Linked DNA regions of Homo sapiens: region 2 is linked to region 1. Evidence: promoter capture Hi-C in 16 types of primary human blood cells and fetal thymus (Javierre and others, 2016). All regions are on one chromosome and are shown on one strand. The core of a region is centred on a gene start or on the middle of the fragment in contact, and the rest is flanking DNA. Distances in the headings are between cores, read along the strand shown.

Region 1 (5,415 bases), core at 2,273-4,772:
CGGAATGCTGGGAGCCTGGGAACAGACCCTGCGGTCCCTGGGAAAGCCAGGCTGTGGGAATCCCACCGTCAGCCCCCTCCCCAGGATGGGCCACCGGATGTCAGAGACCCCAGTTCCCCAACGGGGATCTTTGTGAGGGTGGGCCCTGCCCCCCAGTTCAAGCCCCAGCCTGGCTCGACCCCAGAGTTCAGTAGGCCATCTGTGACGAAGACAGCCCCTCCCCCGCTCTCCGCCCTCCACCCCCCTGCCTGCTCCAACATAATCCTCGCCATTGTGCCCGTCGCCCCCTCCCCCCGCTCCCCCTCTCTAGACCCCTGTACAATGGGGCCTTTGCAGCCTCCAGAATGGAGATGAACTCACGGTTTTTCCAAGTTTAAAAATAGCCCCTCCCATCCCGCAGAAGGCCACCCTCCCTCTCTCCCATGGTGGTGTGGGGTGCACCTCCATCCCGGCTGTGCCTCCTTCCTCCTGCCCTGGGTCAGGTGCGAAGGACATGGGTGAGACAGCATCCGGCGGGAGCAGGGCTGCTTCCCCCGATTCAATCTCTTCCCCCACATCTTCCATCCACCCCCCAGTACAGTATCCGGTTTCCTGCCCCCTACCCTTTTCCACCCTGTTTTCACTCCTTCAGTATAATCTTCTCCTACTCACACCCACATTCTGGAAAAATTCTCCAACTTCCGCACCCCCTCCAAAGACCCAGGCCGGATCCTATTATCTGGCCTGGCCAGGGGGTTCCCCAGTCTCGGTAACTGCCAAGATTGTTGGGACTCCCACCCCATGTCCTCACAGCAGCTGCAAACACCTCTTTATCAGCTTCCTTCCTCGAGCTACTTCTGACCCACCCTTCTCATATCCTCACATCCTGGTCAAGGCCCCTGGATCCAGAAGGGTGGGTCAGAAGTCGCTAAGTTCCCTTTGCTGGAGCTGAGAGAGGACACTTGGGTTCCAGTCTTGCCCCTTCATGGCCTCTGGGGACAGGTCCATCCTTGTCTTTTTACCTCCAACTCCCCAGGGTTCCACTTCTCCTTACAATGAGCTGAAAGCTCCACCCATCCAGGAGACTGTGGCTGAGGAGCCCAACCAGGACCCCCACCCCACCTGGCCTCAGTTTCTCCACCTGTGGTCAGACCTATACCAGAGACACGCAGAGGGCATTATGCGCAGGAGGGTCCCCTCATGTGTGAGGGGCCCAGGTCCACCATGGGGCTGGAGGAAAGCAGCCTTCTTGCCTGCAACCCAACGAGGGAAAAAAGAAGAATTAGGACTCTGCCCCCAGGGCCTCTTCTGGCCCTGGCCTACATCTGAGCCAGGCTCTTCCAACCCAGTCCAGGTGCTGGGTCCCTGCAGGGTAGACGGCCGTGGCCTCCTCCTCCAACTCCCTTCTGCTGGCTGTCACTCCTGTCCTGCTGGAAGTCCCGCAGCCACCTTCTCTCCCCTGGGGCTGCCGGAGCACTAGCCTCTGGCCTCTAAGAAGAGCTGAGGGCTGATCCCCTTCACCTTCCGCTCCCTCCACCCTGCTCCCTGCCTCCACTCCTGCGTCCTTTCCGAGGTCCTGACCCGTCTTTAGTTTGGAATCCCAAAGTGCCCACCTCATGAAACCATCCCAAAGCTATCTGTCCCCTGAGGCTATGACCCACTTCCGAGCAGCCTAGACAGCCCCAGGCTACTGGCTTCCTTAAAGGACAGTCTTCTGTGCTTGTTTGGTGGGGCAATGCGAAGGGACGTCACCCTGGGCTCTAGGCTCTGACCTCATTTCCCTTTCACCGCAGAGACAAATCCTCCACCCCCACCTGGCTTCACTCTCCTCCAGCGGAAGAAGAATTCAGAACTGACTGTCCTTGGTGGTTAGCTGGCTTTGTTTTCAGGCCAGAGAGGCGAATGATTAGTTAATGGTGTTAAGTGAAGGAAGGGGGTTGGGCAGGGAAGCCAGCTCCATGCCCAGCCGGGCCTGCCAGGGCAAACGGCATCCTTCAGCCATTCCCACTCCAGCCCAGCAGACAAAACATTCTCATCTAGTCAGCTCTGGGCCTGGGGCCAGTCCATACATTCACTCTGGAGGGCGAGCCAGCGTCCTCCTCTTGTTCTCCCTGCAGGCTCCAGGCTCCAGGCCCCTGGCCCGGTGGGCCTGGGCTCTGCACAGCCTCTGGCTGGAGACTAATGGCATTGGAGGAGGGGTCGAGAAGGCTCTGAAAGACAAGCCTGGTGTGGTTTTCCAGTCATCTCTGCGTCATCAAAACGCCACCCCGGAGCATGCTCTCAAGTCACCTGGCCATCTCCAGGGTTTGCTGGCTCACCCTCCACCTCCCCCAGCGAGCAAAGGGGTGGCCCCGCTGGGCAACAGACCTCTACCCAAATCCAGGCCCCTATTTGGCACTCCCTGGTGGAGGCGCGCCAGCAGATGTGGACCCCTTTTCTGAGGCCAGGCTGCTGGGGTCAGAGTGAGGCAAGAGCACCTCCCCCTCCCTAGAGCCTTAGTTCAAGAGGCCAGAAGACCCAGGGAGAAGCCGGCGTTTTGGGAGAAGGGGAGCTGCAGAGCTCCCCACCCAAGCAGGTCTGATTTGATTCTTCCCTCAGCTATGGACCCACAATCAATAGGGCTGGGGAAGACATGGGGTGGGGGAAGATCAGCGCTGCCGGGATCCTTTCAATCATCAGGAACAGCAACAGGTTTGCAGGGTCAGGCTGGGGACCCTCGCCCATTAACTCTTTCTTCTCCCTGTTTCTTTCTCTTAGGTGAGGGGAAACTGAGTTCCAGGGTAGGCTCCAGAGTGAAGAGGGAAGAAACATGATTCTCAAGGCCCAGGTCTGGACAAGTGTGAACACCTTGGGCCTGCGAATTCAGCCCCCTCCTTCCTTTCTCTGGTCAAAGGCTAGACTTGCAGGAGCTTGCGTTTGAAGGGACAGCCCAGAAGGCATCGTCTGCACTCCCCATACAGGTACTTCTGGGTCTGTGGGACTGGCGCAGGGTTCTTCTCCCAAAGCTGCCAGCACTGAGGCTGAGGCAGTGTCAGGCCGGCGGCAGCGGCAGTGGTGCAATCGTTCTGGGAAGCGATAGAGGCCGGCCTGAATTCTCTGTGGCAAGGGAGGGGAGCCCAAGTGGGAGGCCCCTTGGGGACACCGAGGACCAGGTCCGCTACTGCTCCTCCCCCAGGAGGTCCCCTAGGGGCTACATTGGCTGGCAGGGGCTGAGCAGCGGTGAGCCTGGCTGGCTTCGACCCGGGGCGACTCCGGGCATCCGGGACAGCTTCTCCTCGCTGCCACCTCGGCCAGTCAGACCCCGAGACACCTGTCACTACCCCCTCAGCCTTCCCAAGCCAGGAGCCTGGGAGTCCGGCTCTGGCCTACCTCCGGCAGCGCTCCTAGGCGCAGCTCCCGGGCTGGCGGCGCCGGGGCCCGCCCCCTAGGGCTGCGGCGCGCGGGGCGGGGGCTGGGGGCTGCGCGGGGCGGGGCGGGCCCGGGCGCTCCGGGCCCCCTCCCCCGCCCCCCTGACGTCAGCCCCCGGCAGCCTCGAGCTGCTCACTTGGCTCTCGCCCTCCGGCCGGGAAGCATGGGGCTTCCCAGGCTGGTCTGCGCCTTCTTGCTCGCCGCCTGCTGCTGCTGTCCTCGCGTCGCGGGTGAGTTCGCTCGCAGGGGGGCCGCGCCCCGGCTAGGGGTCTGCGGTGGAGCGTGCCAGGGAGCAGAGCCAGCGGCGCGGCGGGGTCGGGGCGTTGCGTCTGGGAGGACGAGCCTCCTCCCTGGGTCCCCGATCCCCGGGCGCCTTGCGCGCGAGCAACTCTTCTTTGCAGCCAGTTTGCAGCCGGGATTCTAGAGTATCCCGGGAGCAGCACTCGGAAGGCGGGGAGGAGGCTGCTTCTGGGAACGAGAAGGGGTGGAGCTCAGCCTTTCGGGGTGCTGGGGGGTGGGTGGTCCCTGAGGTGCTCACTCTGGGGGCCCGCAATTGAAGCCGGGCAGGAGGCGCAGCTGGGGCGCATCCTCAAAGCCTGAATTCCGCGCCCGCCTGTTGCTGGAAAAGGCAGCTTCCTTCGCTGGAGGGGGTGCGCCGACCCACCCCTTCCCCCTTCTGCCTGGGCATCACGCCAGGCTGGAGGTGAGCGAGAGCGGGAGGTTCGGCGGCTCCCGCCCGAGCTGGGCGTTGGCAGGGGTTGCGGGGCGGTGTGGGTCGCCTCGCGCCTCCCCGAGTGATGGGATCATAGGGGACAGAGATGAGGGATGGAGGATTCCCATACTGGAAGCGCCCGCTGGCTTATTTTGGGGACCACATTCAGGTGGGAAGTGCGCCCGGGCACCTCGGAGCGTTTCTCCGGATCCGCCTGGTAGCAGGGCGCTCTCGGGTCCACGCTGCCCTTGTATGGCCCGCAGCGGTGTCGCGTGTTTCTCTTGGCTCCCATTCCGCCGTCCCAGCCGCTGTCCGGCTGGGGAAGGGGAGGGCTAGGCAATACCCAGCTCGCTGGCCTCATGCCCAGTGCCAACCATGTCCCTGGGGTATTCCAGGCTACTGCCTCCCAGGCTGACTTTATTTCTGGGGAAAGGGCTAAATCGGGCTCCACAGTTGCAGCCGGTCCAGCTCCACCCTGCCCTGCTCTTCTAGCTCTGGGAGGAGTCAGGGGTCTGAGGCTCTGGGTTGGAGACCCCACCTTCCACCTGCCCTCCTTGTCCGAGAGCCAAGGTAACAACCCAGGCATCCCAGAGCCCAGGCAGATGGTGTCGAGTGACATCACCTCCTCACAGGGCTGGCAGCACGCTGGCACCACTGACGTCACTCCTGCCCACTGCCTGGCCCTTGCCCTGACCCCTGGGGGAGACTCTGACCTCTCCATCCTTACCAGCTACCTAGGGTGGGGTCCGCGGGTGTGTGCGGAGTGTTCATGGAGGTGCTGCTGAGGGAGCATGAGACCGGAACTTCCGCCAGAGTTAGCCCGCTGGGGAGTGAGGGCAGGGATTTTGGAGGGCAGAGGATAGAGCAGTGGTGTCTTCCCCTGGCGGTGGTGACACAAAAGGGCCTGTGTGCCCCAGCCTGGCACATGCTTTGCATTCCCACACTCTGAGCTCACCCGGAGAGGAGGGGGCCTGGAAGGAAAGGGGCCTTCCTCTTGGCCCCGAGCCTAGGTTGCCCCTTTCTGCCCCTCTACCAGCCTCAGCTGGAGCTGTTCGGTGCTCAGTCTCTGCTCAATCTCTGCTTGGCTCCAAGGACCTGGGATCTCCTGGACGGGGAGAGGGCTGGCCCAGGTGGGGCGCGGGTCGGGGTGGGGGTAGAGCGTTCAGAGGACAGGGCCCTCTGCAGACCCTCTGAGTGGCAGGAAAAACAGCTGCAGCAGCGCTGCGAGGGGAGGGGCGGACAGCAGCCGGAGCTGACACAGCTGCGGGGGCCCCGCCTCCCTCCCCCAGGTGTGCCCGGAGAGGCTGAGCAGCCTG
Region 2 (5,908 bases), core at 755-3,254, 2.2 Mb after region 1:
CGAAACCCCGTCTCTACTAAAAAAAAAAAATACAAAATTAGCTGGGTGTGGTGGCACATGCCTATAAGCTTGAACCGGGAGGCAGAGGTTGTAGTGAGTAGAGATCGCGCCACTGCACTCCAGCCTGGGCGACAGACTGAGACTCCGTCACACACACAAAAAAAAAAAAAAAAAAAGAAAGAAAGACCAAGCAGAATGCAAATAAAAGGTCTGAAGAACAAGTTTTGTTAATTTGCCACAACAGACTGTACTCCAGGGGAAGCTTTGTTGTCCATTAAAGTGAGTTCTCTGGGAAGACGAGGAGTAACCGACTTGCACGATTTTCCTGCCTTTTCTATATTCTCTACTTACTATGACAATACAGCACTAGAATTTCCAAGTGCTTATACCAGCATAGTGCAATGTATTTAATGAGAAACCACGTCCAACAACAAAGCGTTATAACTTCTCCAGCTGAGTTAGATGTTTTAGTCTGAACCAGGAAAACAGATGAAGAAAGTTGAACCAAGAATTAAAAGATTTAGAGTTTCCACTCAGACCTAAGACTCTCCACTTTGTTTCAGAGGGAGTGGGTATGGTTATTCTGAAGAAGAAGGCGGCCCTTATCCTGAATGCCCGGTAGCCTCCGTGGGCTGGTGGGTGGTTCCTCCGGTCCAGCACCTCCATAATTTATGATCAAATGCCCAAGCCAACAAACTAATCCTCCCCTTCTCCCCCACAAGGAGGCAACCTTTATGTCAGAACAATGTGCCCAGAAGAAGCCAAAGACACAAGGCACATCCAAGGCAAAGACAATCTTAATTAAGCACTTTCTCCTTCCACTTTCTCCACACCTTTACCCCCGGCCCAACCCCTTCCCATAATTTCAAGCTGTACAAAATGAGGTCCTAGGGTGGATCCGGGTGGTCTTTCCTTTCTCTACGGGTAAGCTCTACAAAGAGGCGAAAGCTCCGAGTGTTAGTTCTTGTTTGTGTATAAATTCTGAAAAGCAACGCTGGCCTGCGAGCTATGAAAAGCAGAAGCATGAGTCACCACGCAACGGGTCAATCAAACCTGTAGACCAGAAGGCACGGATCTGGCAAACGGACGGTGAGCCAGGAAAAAAACATCCCCCCAAACCTCTCCGCTGACAGGTTTATCTAGCTGGCTGACCTTGGGCAGGTCACCAGCCGCTCCGAGCACATTCATGTCTAAGATGAGATGGGGGCTGGAAAGCCTTCCAAGAAATAATCCCTTCCGAGTGGTGACGGTCTATGCAACTTTTGAATAAACACATCCTAAGAGGCAACGGAGAAGTTTCTAAAGAGTTGAAATTTTTCAACAAAAGGAGGAGGGAAAAGTGCTCGGTAAAAACACAACGGAGTAACTGGTTTTGGCCTCCGACCAGACGCGAGGGGAGAGAAGAGTGAGAAGTTAGACCCCTGTGATAAAGGGAAAAGGCAGCAGCGGAGACCCGGGCAGGAGCTGCAGCGCCCAGCCGGGGCGAGCTGGGGTGCGCAAGGCCTACCGCGGGTGGGCCCGGCAGGGCAGGGCAGGGCAGGGCGGGGCGGGGCGCCCGCCGCGCTACCCTCCTGGGAAAGGCCGTGGAGGCGCCGGCCGGCGGCTGAGGAGAAACGCCAGCTTTCGGTATGGAATATCGGGAAAGGGCTCTCAGAGCGAAAACTAGCTGCGCCGGCTGCTGGGAAGCCGACGCTGGGCCCGCAGAGAAGGCGCGCGCTCGCGAGGCCCCCCCCAAGTGGATGGGGCGGCGTGGGGGGAGGGGCCGCAAGGGTGGGGGAGGGGAGGTCGCGGGCCTCTCACAATAACACCTCGCAGCCCCTTCCGACCCCCGCCTCTAAGCCACCGGTTCCCTGCGACCCTGGATGCACTCACTGAAGTAGAGGGTCCGTGCGGGCCCCAAGCGGCTGAGGCGTCGGCGGGTGGCGCGTCGGTCGCTCGCTCGGTCCCGTCGGTCCCGCTCCGGCGCGTCCCTCCTCCGGCCCCAGCACCAGCAGCAGCTCCTCCACTTCCGGTTCCCCTGCCACTCAGCCAAATGGCTTCCGGAAGTCCCGCCCCCATCCTGCCACGCCTCAGCGTGGTTCCTCTCTCCCCGCCTTCGCTCTCCCGGGCGCTGGCGGCGTGCGCCCAGGTGTCCCGCCACACCCCGTTGGGTACCCTGCTTTGTTCTCGCGGTTACCCCCATTTTGTGTGGCGTCTGAGGGACATGGGCTTCTCTCTTTACTCCAGCTGCATCTCTCAATCCTGCGTTCGTGCCACCGCAGTGTGGAGCTGGCATTCGGGACGATGTGGCGTGAAGTCACACTGACGCCATTCCCTTCACACTCAGCCAACTTGGCTTCCTCTTCCACCCATGGAATAAACCAGACTGCTGAAAGTGGGAGGGAAATAGCGGACCAAGGTTAAGGAGGCAGTACCTGACATTTATTAGTGGAATTTCTGTTTCTATGATGAATGTGGAGATTTTGGGTGACCGCCTGTAAAGGTGATACATAGGGGGATGACGAACCCCAGGCTTTTCCTTAAAAGATACATCCAGTTTAGGGGAAGACATACATATACAAAGTCAATATTGAAAAGATTATATGCTAAATAAATGCAGGATCTATAAAAGTAGAGAGGAGGGGCAAGAGATGTGCTCAAGCTTATAGCAGCGCAACGGTTGCTGGAGCAGTGCCCTGAACTGGCCCTTTAAGGATCTCAGCTCTATGCTGGTGAATAGGCAGAGCCTTCCAGGGCTCTTAAACTGATGCGGGGGTGGGGGTTGATTTTGCTGACAAAACCTGTTAAGAATACTGTAAAATCCTGGGAGCCTAAAATGTCAAGATATGTCAAGTAATTTTTCTTTTTTTTTTTTTTTTTTATTCAAGTTCTAGGGTACATGTGCACAACGTGCAGGTTTGTTACATAGGTATACGTGTGCCATGTTGGTTTGCTGCACCCATCAACTCGTCATTTACATTCCGTATTTCTCCTAATGCTATCCCTCCCCCAGCCCCGCAGTCCCCGACAGGCCCCCGTGTGTGATGTTCCCCGCCCTTTGTCCAAGTGTTCTCAGTGTTCAATTCCCACCTATGAGAACATGCGGTGTTTGGTTTTCTGTCCTTGTGATAGTTTGCTGAGAATGATGGTTTCCAGTTTCGTCCATGTCCCTGCAAAGGATATGAACTCATCCTTTTTACAGCTGCATAGTATTTCGTGGTGTATATGTGCCACATTTTCTTAATCCAGTCTATCATTGATGGACATTTGGGTTGGTTCCAAGTCTTTGCTATTGTGAATAGTGCCACAATAAACATACGTGTGCATGTATCTTTATAGCAGCATGATTTATAATCCTTTGGGTATATACCCAGTAATGGGATGGCTGGGTCAAATGGTATTTCTAGTTCTAGATCCTTGAGGAATCGCCACACTGTCTTTCACAATGGTTGAATTAATTTACACTCCCTCCAACAGTGTAAAAGTGTTCCTCTTTCTCCACATCCTCTCCAGCATCTGTTGTTTCCTGACTTTTTAATGATCGCCATTCTAACTGGCATGAGATGGTATCTCATTGTGGTTTTGATTTGCATTTCTCTGATGACCAGTGATGATGAGCATTTTTTCATGTGTCTGTTGGTTGCATAAATGTCTTCTTTTGAGAAGTGTCTGTTCATATCCTTTGCCCACTTTTTGATGGGGTTGTTTGTTTTTTTTCTTGTAAATTTGTTTAAGTTCTTTGTAGATTCTGGATATTAGCCCTTTGTCAGATGGGTAGATTGCAAAAATTTTCTCCCATTCTGTAGGTTGCCTGTTCGCTCTGATGGTAGTTTCTTTTGCCATGCAGAAGCTCTTTAGTTTAATTATATCCCATTTGTCTATTCTGGCTTTTGTTGCCATTGCTTGTGGTGTTTTAGTCAGGAAGTCTTTGCCCATGCCTATGTCCTGAATGGTATTGCCTATGTTTTCTTCTAGGGTTTTTATGGTTTTAGGTCTAACATTTAAGTCTTTACTCCATCTTGAATTAATTTTTGTATAAGGTGTAAGGAAGGGATCCAGTTTCAGCTTTCTACATATGGCTAGCCAGTTTTCCTGGCACCATTTATTAAATAGGGAATCCTTTCCCCATTTCTTGTTTTTGTCAATTTGTCAAAGAGCAGATGGTTGTAGATGTGTGGTGTTATTTCTGAGGCCTCTGTTCTGTTCTGTTGGTCTATATATCTGTTTTGGTGCTAGTACCATGCCGTTTTGGTTACTGTAGCCTTGTAGTATAGTTTGAAGTCAGGTAGCGTGGTGCCTCCAGCTTTGTTCTTTTTGCTTAGGATTGTCTTGGCAATGCGGGCTCTTTTTTGGTTCCATATGAAGTTTAAAGTAGTTTTTTCCAATTCTGTGAAGAAAGTCTTTGGTAGCTTGATGGGGATGGCATTGAATCTATAAATTACCTTGGGCAGTATGGCCATTTTCACAATACTGATTCTTCCTATCCATGAGCATGGAATGTTCTTCCATTTGTTTGTGTCCTCTTTTATTTCACTGAGCAGTGGTTTGTAGTTCTCCTTGACGAGGTCCTTCACATCCCTTGTAAGTTGGATTCCTAGGTATTTTATTCTCTTTGTAGCAATTGTGAATGGGAGTTCACTCATGATTTGGCTCTCTGTTATTGTCTGTTATTGGTGTATAGGAGTGCTTGTGATTTTTGCACATTGATTTTGTATCCTGAGACTTTGCTGAAGTTGCTTATCAGCTTAAGGAGATCTTGGGCTGAGACAATGGGGTTTTCTAAATATACAATCATGTCATCTGCAAACAGGGAAAATTTGACTTCCTCTTTTCCTAATTGAATACCCTTTATTTCTTTCTCTTGCCTGATTGCCCTGGCCAGAACCTCCAACACTATGTTGAATAGGAGTGGTGAGAGAGGGCATCCTTGTCTTGTGCTGGTTTTCAAAGGGAATGCTTCCCGTTTTTGCCCATTCAGTATGATATTGGCTGTGGGTTTGTCATAAATAGCTCTTACTATTTTGAGATACGTTCCATCAATACCTAGTTTATTGCGAGCTTTTAGCATGAAGGGCTGCTGAATTTTGTCGAAGGCCTTTTCTGCATTGATATAATCATGTGGTTTTTGTCATTGGTTTTGTTTATGTGATGGATTACGTTTATCAATTTGTGTATGTTGAACCAGCCTTGCATCCCAGGGATGAACCCAACTTGATTGTGGTGGATAAGCTTTTTGATGTGCCACTGGATTCGGTTTGCCAGTATTTTATTGAGAATTTTCACATCAATGTTCATCAGGCGTATTGGCCTAAAATTCTCTTTTTTGTTATGTCTCTGCCGGGCATTAGTATCAGGATGATGCTGGCCTCATAAAATGAGTTAGGGAGTCTCTTTTTTTCTATTGATTGGAATAGTTTCAGAAGGAATGGTACCAGCTCCTCTTTGTAGCTCTAATAGAATTCGGCTGTGAATCTGTCTGGTCCTGGATTTTTTTTTGGTTGGTAGGCTATTAATTATTGTCTCAATTTCAGAGCCTGTTATTGGTCTATTCAGAGATTCAACTTCTTCCTGGTTTAGTCTTGGGAAGGTGTATGTGTCCAGGAATTTATCCATTTCTTCTAGATTTTCTAGTTTATTTGCGTAGAGGTGTTTATATCATTCTCTGGCGGTAGTTTGTATTTTTGTGGGATTGGTGGTGATATCCCCTTTATCATCTTTTATTGCATCTATTTGATTATTCTCTCTTTTCTTCTTTATTAGTCTTGCCAGCGGTCTATCAATTTTGTTGATCTTTTCAAAACACCAGCTCCTGGATTCATTGATTTTTTGAAGGGTTTTTTGTGTCTCTATCTCCTTCAGTTCTGCTCTGATCTTAGTTATTTCTTGCCTTCTGCTAGCTTTTGAATGTATTTGCTCTTGCTTCTCTAGT

The links. Contacts are between HindIII fragments. The CHiCAGO score rates a contact against its expected background, and 5 or more counts as called.
Region 2: the fragment with the promoter of PAFAH1B2 here is called in contact with the fragment with the promoter of MCAM in region 1 in 1 of 17 cell types (activated CD4 T cells); the score reaches 5.4 in activated CD4 T cells.

What each region holds. Positions count from the first base shown.
Region 1 is chr11:119,315,237-119,320,651 of GRCh38, reverse strand. It overlaps MCAM (melanoma cell adhesion molecule), which reads left to right and starts at 3,522. Exons shown (of 16, transcript NM_006500.3): 1 at 3,522-3,617; 2 at 5,389-5,415. The coding sequence starts at 3,551. RefSeq lists enhancers at 1,893-1,942, 4,836-5,415 and a silencer at 3,184-3,243. The HindIII fragment of the contact is 17,882 bases long and covers 1-5,415 here.
Region 2 is chr11:117,140,383-117,146,290 of GRCh38, reverse strand. It overlaps PAFAH1B2 (platelet activating factor acetylhydrolase 1b catalytic subunit 2), which reads right to left and starts at 2,004. Exons shown (of 6, transcript NM_002572.4): 1 at 1,873-2,004. RefSeq lists an enhancer at 745-924 and a silencer at 1,475-1,794. The HindIII fragment of the contact is 2,379 bases long and covers 265-2,643 here.